Regions from separate parts of the Homo sapiens genome. Here all the other regions are linked to region 1. Evidence: promoter capture Hi-C in human tissues and cell types (Jung and others, 2019). All regions are on one chromosome and are shown on one strand. The core of a region is centred on a gene start or on the middle of the fragment in contact, and the rest is flanking DNA. Distances in the headings are between cores, read along the strand shown.

Region 1 (2,528 bases), core at 20-2,519:
AAAGCCAACTCCTTCATGTACTTTTAATACTTAAAGCATGTGTTTTTATCTTTTAAATCCACAGTTCAGAGTCGTGACACTTCAAGAGGTGGGCAGATTATTCATTTGTGAATGAACAGCATTTATGAGAAATTTGGAGAAATTTTATGTTTGAGAGACACGAAGAATCCAGAGCTTTCCAAAACAGACTGATGATCACACCCACCGGGGAGTTTATGAAAATGCAAGCCCCTGGAGCACGGGCCTCTGCTGGATATTCGGAATCATGGGGCTGAGTAGGGCCAGGAATCTGTACTTTTAGAACAGCCATATTATCTAAAGTATATAGTCATTCCCAGTCCAAGCTCTGTAAATCCTGAAGAGAAAAATCTAAAAACTGCATATCCGGATTATGTTATTCTAGCTTCCTGTAGAAATCAGGCTTCAAGGAGCATACAGCCATTCTCATCAACATGAGACACGGATTTGTAGGCAATTTCTGTACCTTTCATAAAGCTGGCTAAAAGCATCAGCCGGTATTTATATAAGAATCCATGTCTGTTCTTTTTTTCCAAAAATCCTAGAGCAGTTGGCTCCTCAGATAACCCTGTGTGTTTCTTTTATCCAGTAAAAGCAGCGCATCCAGAGGTACTTGTTTCCTGGCCTTCTGCGAAGCCCACAGATAAATTAGGTCTCATTTGGAAACGTCCCATTTCGAAAAGCCTGAGGTATCTATCTCTGCCTACCGACTGATTTACAGCCTCACTTTAAAATGTTAGTCTGTTCTTAAAAAGGGTTTATAACTGCATCTACTATAATAATAAAATGTAAGCAACCTTGCGCTAGGTACTGAACAATTTCATAGCTTTGAACTCTCCAAAATGTTCTAGAAGCCAATACAGAAAACCCAAAAATCTCAGTTTTTGTTTGCAGAAGGGGCAAGAGAACCGGTTGTGTTAGCCCTCCAAGTGCCCAGCGCCAGCATAGGGTCTGTCTAACACACAGCCCAGGCTCTGTAAACCTTTGCTAAAAGAGCGAATCAACAAGGAATAAGTAATGGATAATAATAATAAATAATAATGAATCCATTCTTCCTTCGGTCGTGGGTCTGGCAGGCATAAATTCCGGCCGGGATTCCGACCCCAGGGCCAGAGCAGGACTCGCCTTGGCGTCTATGAGTGGGCGGGGCTTCCCTGGGGTACCGCCCACGTCGGGCGGGACCTGAGGGCCGCTGGAGGGGCGGGGCGTCTATGAGGTCCCGCCCATGCGGGGGCGGGGCCTGCGGCGCGCGGGAAGCGGCGCGCGCTGCGCGGGAGGTGACGGTGCCTCTGACTGTCCGGGTCCCTCCAGGTACGGCTTCCCTGGCCCGGGCAGCTCCGCGGCTCTTTTGGTCGCGTCGGTCCGGGCCAGAGGCCCTCGCCGAGGGCGGGCCCCTGGGCCCCGGGATAGCTCCGGAGCGGCGCGCGTTGGGGCGGCGGGGCCCCGTCCACCCCCGGCCCCGCGCGGCCTCCTCCCGGCGGCCTCAGTCCCAGCTTCCCGGGCCCAGCGCCCGGTCCCTGGGAAAGGCGGGGTTCTCCTCTCGCCCCGCCGCCCCGGTCCCCTACCCCGTTTGGCCCCCTCTTCCGGGAGGCTCCTCCCGGGGCGGGCCCCTCCCCGGGCTCTCAGGGCGCGCCCCTAGCCCCTACTAAGCGGGGACAGGCCGTGCAGACGGCCGGGGCCCCTAGGTAGCCTTTACCTGGGTGTTTCGTTTTGCTTTTCTGGATGTAGCGGCGTATCATAAACTTGTGGATGTCAGGACCCAGCGAAGCATTTTAGGTGGAGCTAGCAAGGTGTTATTGTCAGATGGCAACGTTAACATCCTTTCCCAATGCAGTGTGCATTTTAAATGGCTCCTGGCCCCTATTCAGCGCTCAATAACCCTTTGCTGCTGTTAACACTGTTGTTTAATCCATCACCAGCATTTTGCAGCTTTCTCCTGTCTTGAAGAAGTAGAACGGTGCCCGAGAAACGTTTTTCCCCTTCGAGACTCAGGAGGATGAAAGTCATCACTTGTGAAATAGCCTGGCACAACAAGGAGCCCGTGTACAGCCTGGACTTCCAGCATGGGACGGCTGGGAGGATCCACAGACTGGCGTCTGCCGGCGTGGACACCAATGTCAGGGTAAACTGGGGCAGAGATAGACATCCGGGAACACTGCTTGAAGCAATAGTTTTCATTCTTTTACTTAAAACCAGTGTCGGCTGGGCGCGGTGGCTTACGCCTGTAATCCCAGTGCTTTGGGAGGCTGAGGTGAGAGGATCGCTTGAGTCCAGGAGTTCGACACCAGCCTGGGCAACAGCCAGACATGAAAAAGTAGCGGGACGTGGCAGTGTGCAGCTGTAGGCCCAGCTACTTGGGAAGTTGAAGTGAGAGGATCGCTTGAGCCTAGGAGTTTGAAGCAAGCAACGATCACTCCACTGCACTCCAGCCTGGGTGACAGAGCCAGACCCTTCTCTTAAGTAAATGAATGAATGAATTAACGTATGTCAACAAACTAAACTACTTTGTC
Region 2 (2,528 bases), core at 16-2,515, 490 kb after region 1:
TTGGTCACCAATGAACGCAGGAGGGAGACCAGAGGACTAAGCGTGACTTTGTACAGGCCTGTGGGTGCCCCTCAGCATAGACAGCTGGGCACCACGGACAGCATGTTGATGGCAGCGGGAGGCAGACAGGCTCCTAAGCAGGAAGAAGCCAGTTCCTGGTGAAACCACACCTTCAAGCCTGAAGCCTGGGCTCCAGGCTGCCAGTTCCAGGTGAGGTCCACGGCCTGGAGTGAGAATTTCATTGACAACTGTTTGGCCATTCGGATGGTGCTTTTTCCAGGACCAGCCAGGGACACCCAAGGACCAGTCAGCACACACTTCCTCCATTGTGACAACATAAAAACCCCAGATTCAGCCACTCACACTCTCCTCTGGAAGACCCCGCTGAGAGCTGGACACATGTCGGGACAACCTGTCTGCAGAAAGGAGCTACCCACCATGGGTCTCCTCTTCGCTGAGAGCCAGACAGATGTTGGGATAACATGTCTGCGGAAAGGAGCTACACACTACAGGTCTCCTGTCCACTAAGAGCTGGACACTCATCGGGACGATCTGCCTGCAGGAAGGAGCTACCCACTTCAAGTCTCCTGAGAGCTGTTCTGCCACTCAATGAAGCTTCTCTCTGCCTTGCTCGCCCTCCAATTGTCCACATACCTCCTTCTTCCTGGATGCAGGACAAGAACTTGGGACCTGCCCAATGGTGGAACTAAGAGAGCTGTAACACAAACAGGGGCAACGTCCCCCTGCTCGCCATGTTGCAGGTGATGAGGAGAGAAGAGAGGCAGCTCTTCGGGGAGCCAGACCTAGGGGCTCCCCAAGCCAGGGCTGTGACACCCTCTTTGGGGCTCTGCAGTTCCTGGTGTCTCCAAGTTTCTGGATGCCACCACATTCCCCTTGTCTAGGTGCTGGTGCCTGCAGCAGAAGCCACTTGTGGTACATCTGATCTAGCCTCAGCCTTGCACGGAGGCAGCACCCGTGCCAGGGCATGGAGCTGCCTGCCCCACCGCAGCAGCCACTGTGCACTGGCCTGCCTGTGCACAGTGGCCAGACCCCAAGCTTGCTCGTTCACAACCCCTCGCCAGTGTGCGCCTGGCTCACCCGTGGCAGGCATGGGATCCAGGCTGAGAGTGCGAGCCAAGTGCAGCCTGCCAGGGCTGAATGAGCCCAGCAGGCCCGAACAAAACTCAGGCAAAGGTACCACCAGCCACAGAGGTTTCTGGCTGGAAAAGCAATACTCTAAGGATCCTGTGACATTTTCGTATACATTTCCACAAAAATACCTGCCGTGATTTTGATTGAGCTTGTACCAAATTCGTACATCAACTTACAGCAAACTGGCATTTTACCAGTACTAACTCTTCCAAACCATGATCATGGTTTCTCTACGTAGGTCTTATGCAGTTTCAAAACAGTTCGTACTTTCCCTTGTGATTTCTTGCTTGACCAATGGACTATTTAGATGTGTGCTGTTTACTTTCTAAATACTTGTGGGTTTCCTAGATCCATTTTTGTTATTGATTTCTAATTTAATTCCATGGTGGACAGGGAATATACTCTGTGATTTCAATCACTTTAGGCTTTTGGAGACTTGTTTTATGACCCAGCACATAGTCTACCTTGGTGAACATACCAAGCACACTTGAAACAAGGTGAGTTTGGCAAGGTATAGTGTTCTGGAAGTATTAGGTATCAGGAAGGTGAAAGTGGTTGAGAGTGTTATCCAGATTATCTATGTTTTTCATGATTTTTGGTTAGCTGTTCCATCATGGGCTAAGAGAGCATTGCTGAAATCTCCAACTATGACGGTGGACTTCTCTATTTCTTTTATTCTGTCCATTTTTGCATCATATACTTTAAAGCTCTGTTATTAGGTAAATACACATCCATGAGTTGTTATCTGTTCTCTATGAATTACCCCTATTGTCACTGTGAAATATCCCTCCCCATCTTTTGTACTTCTTTGTCTTAAAGTGAATTTTGTCTGCTGCTTAAAAAGTCACTCCAACCTCCTTAGGCTGTTAATGTGGTATATAATTTCCTATCCTTTTACTTCTAACCTGTGTCTTTATAATTGAAGTGTGTCTTGAAGAGAACATATACTCAGGTCTTGCTTTTTAAAAAATCCATTCTAACATTTTCTGCCTTTTAATAACAGGGCTTAGTCTATTATCATTTAATGTAAATATTGATAAGGTTGAATTGAGTTAAACCATTTGGTTAATTTTTATTTTTTTCTCTCTTTTTTTTGTGTGTGTTTCTAGTCCTCTTTTCCTGACTTCTTTTAGATTTTTTTTTTAGAATGGCATTTTATCTATTGGCTTTTGAACTGTATCTTTTGCCTTATGTGTTTAGTGGTTATCCTAGGGATTACAATGTACATCCTTACCTTTTATATCAACTTAGCATTAATATTGTACCATGTCAGATCAAATGCAGAAATGTTACAATCTTATAGGTCCATTTACCACCCCTTTGTTGTTCCTTTTTGCTAGAGTTGTCATATGTATTCTACCAATGAATGTAAGACT
Region 3 (2,528 bases), core at 9-2,508, 300 kb before region 1:
TAAAAATACAAAAACTTAGCGGAGCCTGGTGGCACACCTGTAATCCCAGCTACTTGGGAGGCTGAGGCATGAGAATTGCTTGAACCTGGGAGGCGGAGATTGCAGTGAGCCGAGATCACACTGCTACACTCTAGCCTGGGCAACAGAGTGAAACTGTGTTGCAAAACACAAACAAACAAAAAAACAAAAACACACACACACGTTTGCAAAAAACATAACCTCAAAGAGTAGCTCTTCAAGTCACTACTCCCATCTCTCTATGCCATGTGATATCACCTGCTTTCTCACTAGGTGAGGGCTTGGTGGGGGTGGTCAAGGAAGAACACATCAGGGAGAAGCACCAGAGGTAGCAAGGTCACAGGTGTGGGGCCTGGAAGCGTCATCGCTGCTCACATCATTAGTGCTGCTGGTGCTGGTCCTCACCCCAACCCCATGTCTGAGCTCAGGAGAACTAGAGCCCCGCCGTCCCTCCTGTGCCTCCACTTCATGCTAGAGGCCTTAAAGGACTGCAACCACAAGAAACACAAACAGGCCCCTGGCAGGGCTGGTCTTTGGACAATTGTGAAAGACACAAAAGAAGACAGCTTCTAGAGGCGGGCATGGTGGCTCACGCCTGTAATCCCAGTACTTTGGGAGGCCGAGGCAGGTGAGTCACTTGAGATCAGGAGTTCGAGACCATCCTGACCAACATGGTGAAACCCTGTCTCTACTAAAAATACAAAAATTAGGCCGGGTGCAGTGGCTCACGCCTATAATTCCAGCTACTTGGGAGGCTGAGGTAGGAGAATCGCTTGAACCCGGGAGGTGGAAGTTGCAGTGAGCCAGGATGACACCACTGCGCTCTAGCCTGGGCGATAGAGTGAGACTGCGTCTCAAAAAATAAATAAATAAAATAAAATCAGCCAGGCACAGTGGTGCATGCCTGTAATCCCAGCTACTCAGGAGGCTGAGGCAGGAGAATCACTTGAACCCGGGAAGGGGAGGTTGCAGTGAGCTGAAATCATACCAATGCACTACCTGGGTGACAGAGTAAGACTCCGTCTCAAAAAAAAAAAAAAAAGAAAAGACAGCTTCTGGGACTCTCACAATGCAGTGAGAATTCTTGAGTTCTTGGAATGGATGCATTAACCTCTGTTTTCAAGATGGAGAAGGAAGCCAAGTATGGGGATGCTATTCTGTACAGGGGGAAGATCTGAAGATTCAAACAGAAGGCACAAATCCAGGAGGCAGTCCACAAGCCTACAAAAATGTATATCCTACAAGATTCAGGTTGCTAATTTTGGAGAACAACTTTCTGAACCCAGCTTATGAAGGCCACCTAATGGTGGGGACTCCCACTCATGACAAGGTGTGGAAAATCTGACAAAGAAAATTATAGAACTCCTAATCCTCTTTGGCCAATATGAACTGAAGCTTCAGAACAAAGTTCCAGGCCTCCCAAAAAGTCTTGATCCAGCCTGTTGCCATTTTAATCCAAAACGCACTATGGTTATAGCATTGCAGCTGGGATGGAGTAATTGTATCCTCAGAATCAGGAGCAGTTGTATGCAAGGGCTTCAAACTTACTCAATAGCAGAATTTGTGTAGGTGATTTGAATACTTAGGGTCACTTGAGATCAGTGCCATCAAGACCAGCTTTTGGGAGATCTCAGTCTCCCAAGCAGTTGTCCCTCACAAGAAACTCCATGCCAAGGGCAGATTGCTCCCTGTTCAGATGGAAAACATCAAGCACTCACACTCAGAGCTCATCAGCTGCTGGCTTCAGCTTGAGCAAGAAGTCTTCAGTGTCCCAGCAGGTGATATCTCACTACCAACTTGCTGTGCACAGATTTGCTGCTGCTCTATCAAGATGCACAGGCCAGGCTGGGTGTTGTGTGGCTCACACCTATAATCCTAGCCCTGTTGGGAGGCCAAAGCAGAAGGATTGTATGAACCCAGGAGTTCAAGACCAGCCTGGGCAACACAGCAAGACCTCGTCTCTAAAAACAAAGACAAAAACAAAAAAAAAACTAGCCAGACATGGTAGCATGTACCCATAGTCCCCACCCCCCCCGAAAAAAATGCACAGACCAACTAGAATCCAAGGATAACCATTCTGACATTCATGGGTCCCATCTCTAACAGCTACTTCACCACATACCAGAGACACCAAGGGTTCCCTCAGCCCAGGTCTCCATGCCAACCAGGCTCAAGTTTTAAACCCTAGAAATTAGGTTCTCTAGGGCCAACGAGAGACTAGGGATAAAACCTAGAGCTAAAATCCAGGTCCCAGCTGTGCTGGCCTCTGCCAAGGATTCTTCAGGCTTCCCTGCTTCTTCATCGTCAGGATCCCTAATCCTACAATCAGTAGCCAGTGCCTTTGTCCACTGCCACGCCCAGCTAATTTTTGTATTTTTAATAGATATGGGGTTTCACCATGTTGGCTAGGCTGGTCTCGAACTCCTGACTTCAGACAATCTGTCCCCCTCGGCCTCCCAAAGTGCTGGGATTACAGGCATGAGCTACCATGCCCAGCCTGTATTAATTTC
Region 4 (2,528 bases), core at 18-2,517, 280 kb before region 1:
CATTTTGTTTTAAAGGTTTAAGCAAGTTTTGAAATGTTAATTGTAAAGGAAATTCTGTGTGTAATCATACTGGCTGAAGTTAAAGGGGTATCATCCAGTTTTTCTGTGAACTGGACATTAAAATAAAAGCACAACAGGTTTTTCTTAAAGCACTAACCTGCTCTTTAACAAAAATTATAAAAAGGTTAAAAAGAGTCTGTAAAAATCTTACATTATGATCAGACATTAAAAATTGGATAAATATGTCTACAAGGTTTTACTAAAATTAAGTTTAACATTAATAACACACTAATATAAAGATGAAATTTAGCTTATCTGGTATAAAAATCATACAGGAAGCATTGTCAAATACAAAATGGTGTTTGGCCTTCTTTGGTCTAAAAACTAATAAAAATAGGTGCCAAAGAAAATTTCTCAACAAGAAAGCATGAAGGACTATAAAGTCCACTGTTGATATCCCCACGTTTAAAACAAAAGATCAATTTCTTAGAAATTATATACTCGGTTTATCCTCCACCTTCTCTTCCCTTAAAACAGAGGTCTTTTAGCACAGGTGCTGCCTTTGGACTTTCCAGTGCCTCAGCATCAGCCTGGGGATCACGTTCTCATCAAAGAGGGGAAAGAAGGGAAACTCGAGCCAGCCCGGGAAGGACCCTACCTTGTGCTGCTAACCACTGAGACTGCTGTTCGTAAGGTTGGAAAGAGATGGACACATCACACATGAGTCAAGCAAGCACCATTATCCTCAGAATCATGGGCCATTGTTCCTGGATCAAGCCCTACCAAATTAAAGCTAAGGAAAGCTTAGTCTATCTATCTTTTCCTTTCCCTTCCTTACCCAGTGCTTATATCCATTACTATTCCTACCACTAGCAACTCTAACCCCACTTTAGAACGCTTCTGTGGTTTAGGAGCAGAGGTCACTGGAAAGGATCCTATGGGCTTCTTTAAGGTGGGCTTTGTTCTCCCTCCTCCACCTCCTATGGCTGCCCCTTTCCCAAACCTACAAAATCAAACTATGACTCACCTCATGCCAAATGACAAAAGCAAGGTCCCGGTAGTAGAAATAGGAGACCTAAGGCAAACCATAGCCATTAAAACAGGGTATAAAAATGTAAATGCCTGGTTAAAATTGATTAAATATTCTGTCCACACGTTAAACAAAGGCAATTTTTATGCTTGTGCACATGACAGGCCAGAAGCCCAGATTGTCCCCTTTCCACTAGGGTGGCCCTCTAGTTGACTGGGCATGGCCTGCATGGCAGATCTTTCCCAGGATTATTCAGCCTGGGGTAACAAGTCGTGCCAAGCTCTCTCTCTGCTACATCCCGAAGTTCAACACCCTGCGGGTCAGCCCCCAAGGGCCATCCAGCTTCCATCTCCCAACACTAAGTTCACTTCGTGTCTCTCAGGACCGGGAGGAAACTTAGCGTTCCTTGGAGTCCTGAAGGGATGCAGTGAGATTAAGAAATTTCAAGAGCTTACCAATTAGCCCTTACTCATCCCTGAGCAGATGTGTAGTGGTATTATGATGGACCTTTACTGGACACTCTGCCGAGTAACTGAAGTGGCACTTGCTTTAGTCCAGTTGGCTATCCCTTTCACGCTGGCATTTCATCAACCAGAGAAAGGAAAAATAAGATATCATAAAGCAAAAGAAGCCCCTTATGGGTCTTTTGACTCTCACATCTATTTAGACATAATTACAGTCCCACAGGGAATACCAGATCAATTTAAAGCCTGAAATCAAATAGCTGCAGGATTTGAGTCAATATTTTGGTGGGTGACAATAAAATGTAAATTGGATAAACTACATCTATTACAACCAACAGCCATCCATTAACTACACTAGAGATGCTGTTAAAGGAATAGCTGAGCAATTAGGGGCTACTAGCCAGATGGCTTGGGAAAAATAGGATAGCCTTAGACATGATATTAGCAGAAAAAGGAAGAATTTGCATCATAATTAAAAATCAATGTTGTAACTTCATCCCAAACAACACCGCCCCTAATGGAAGTATAACAAAGGCATTGCAAGGTCTGACTGCTCTATCCTGAGTTAGCCAATAACTCGGGGGTAAATGACCCCTTTACAGGATGGCTGGAAAAGTGGTTCAGTAAATGGAAAAGAATAGTAGCCCCAATTCTTACTTCCATCGCAGCCATCATAGGTGTGCTTATTCTTGTCGGGTGTTGTGTCACACTAAGGAAGGAGACCGCTACAACTCCTGCTGCCCTCCTCCCACCACCTTGCCTAGTTCACAAGACAGGAGGAAAGAGAGAAAGCAAAAAGCTGGAAAGAAGCAAAAGTAAGATAAATAGCCAGACAACCTTGGCACCACCACCTGGCCCTAGGAGTTAAAAAGGTAATAATAATAACATCAACCCCAGACCTAAACTACTTGTGTTATCTGTAAATTCCAGACATTGTATGAAAAAGCATTGCAAAACTTTCTGTTCTGTTAGCTGATGCATGTAGCCTCCAGTCACGTTCCCCACGCTTGCTGGATTTATCACGACCTTTTCAT

What was found. Contacts are between HindIII fragments. The study calls those that stand out against the background at their distance.
Region 2: a contact is called between a fragment that was not itself captured here and the fragment with the promoter of CHAF1B in region 1, in 2 of the 25 tissues and cell types used here (dorsolateral prefrontal cortex and lymphoblastoid cells).
Region 3: a fragment that was not itself captured here is called in contact with the fragment with the promoter of CHAF1B in region 1 in 1 of the 25 tissues and cell types used here (lymphoblastoid cells).
Region 4: a fragment that was not itself captured here is called in contact with the fragment with the promoter of CHAF1B in region 1 in 2 of the 25 tissues and cell types used here (dorsolateral prefrontal cortex and lymphoblastoid cells).

The regions. Positions count from the first base shown.
Region 1 is chr21:36,384,123-36,386,650 of GRCh38, forward strand. CHAF1B (chromatin assembly factor 1 subunit B) reads left to right here and starts at 1,270. Exons shown (of 14, transcript NM_005441.3): 1 at 1,270-1,329; 2 at 1,938-2,140. The coding sequence starts at 2,015. RefSeq lists silencers at 1,102-1,471, 1,502-1,601 and enhancers at 1,721-2,222, 2,223-2,528. The HindIII fragment of the contact is 18,705 bases long and covers 1-2,528 here.
Region 2 is chr21:36,875,066-36,877,593 of GRCh38, forward strand. The region is part of intron 6 of HLCS (holocarboxylase synthetase); the gene reads right to left. Among named protein-coding and RNA genes, the nearest start is that of HLCS-AS1, 90 kb to the right of the region's middle. The HindIII fragment of the contact is 4,203 bases long and covers 1-2,528 here.
Region 3 is chr21:36,083,140-36,085,667 of GRCh38, forward strand. All of the region lies in intron 2 of CBR1-AS1 (CBR1 antisense RNA 1), which reads right to left. Among named protein-coding and RNA genes, the nearest start is that of CBR1, 14 kb to the left of the region's middle. The HindIII fragment of the contact is 3,563 bases long and covers 1-2,528 here.
Region 4 is chr21:36,107,045-36,109,572 of GRCh38, forward strand. The region is part of intron 1 of CBR1-AS1 (CBR1 antisense RNA 1); the gene reads right to left. It overlaps LOC105369306 (a long non-coding RNA gene), which reads left to right. Exons shown (of 2, transcript NR_147887.1): 2 at 554-2,528. Among named protein-coding and RNA genes, the nearest start is that of CBR1-AS1, 18 kb to the right of the region's middle. The HindIII fragment of the contact is 4,793 bases long and covers 1-2,528 here.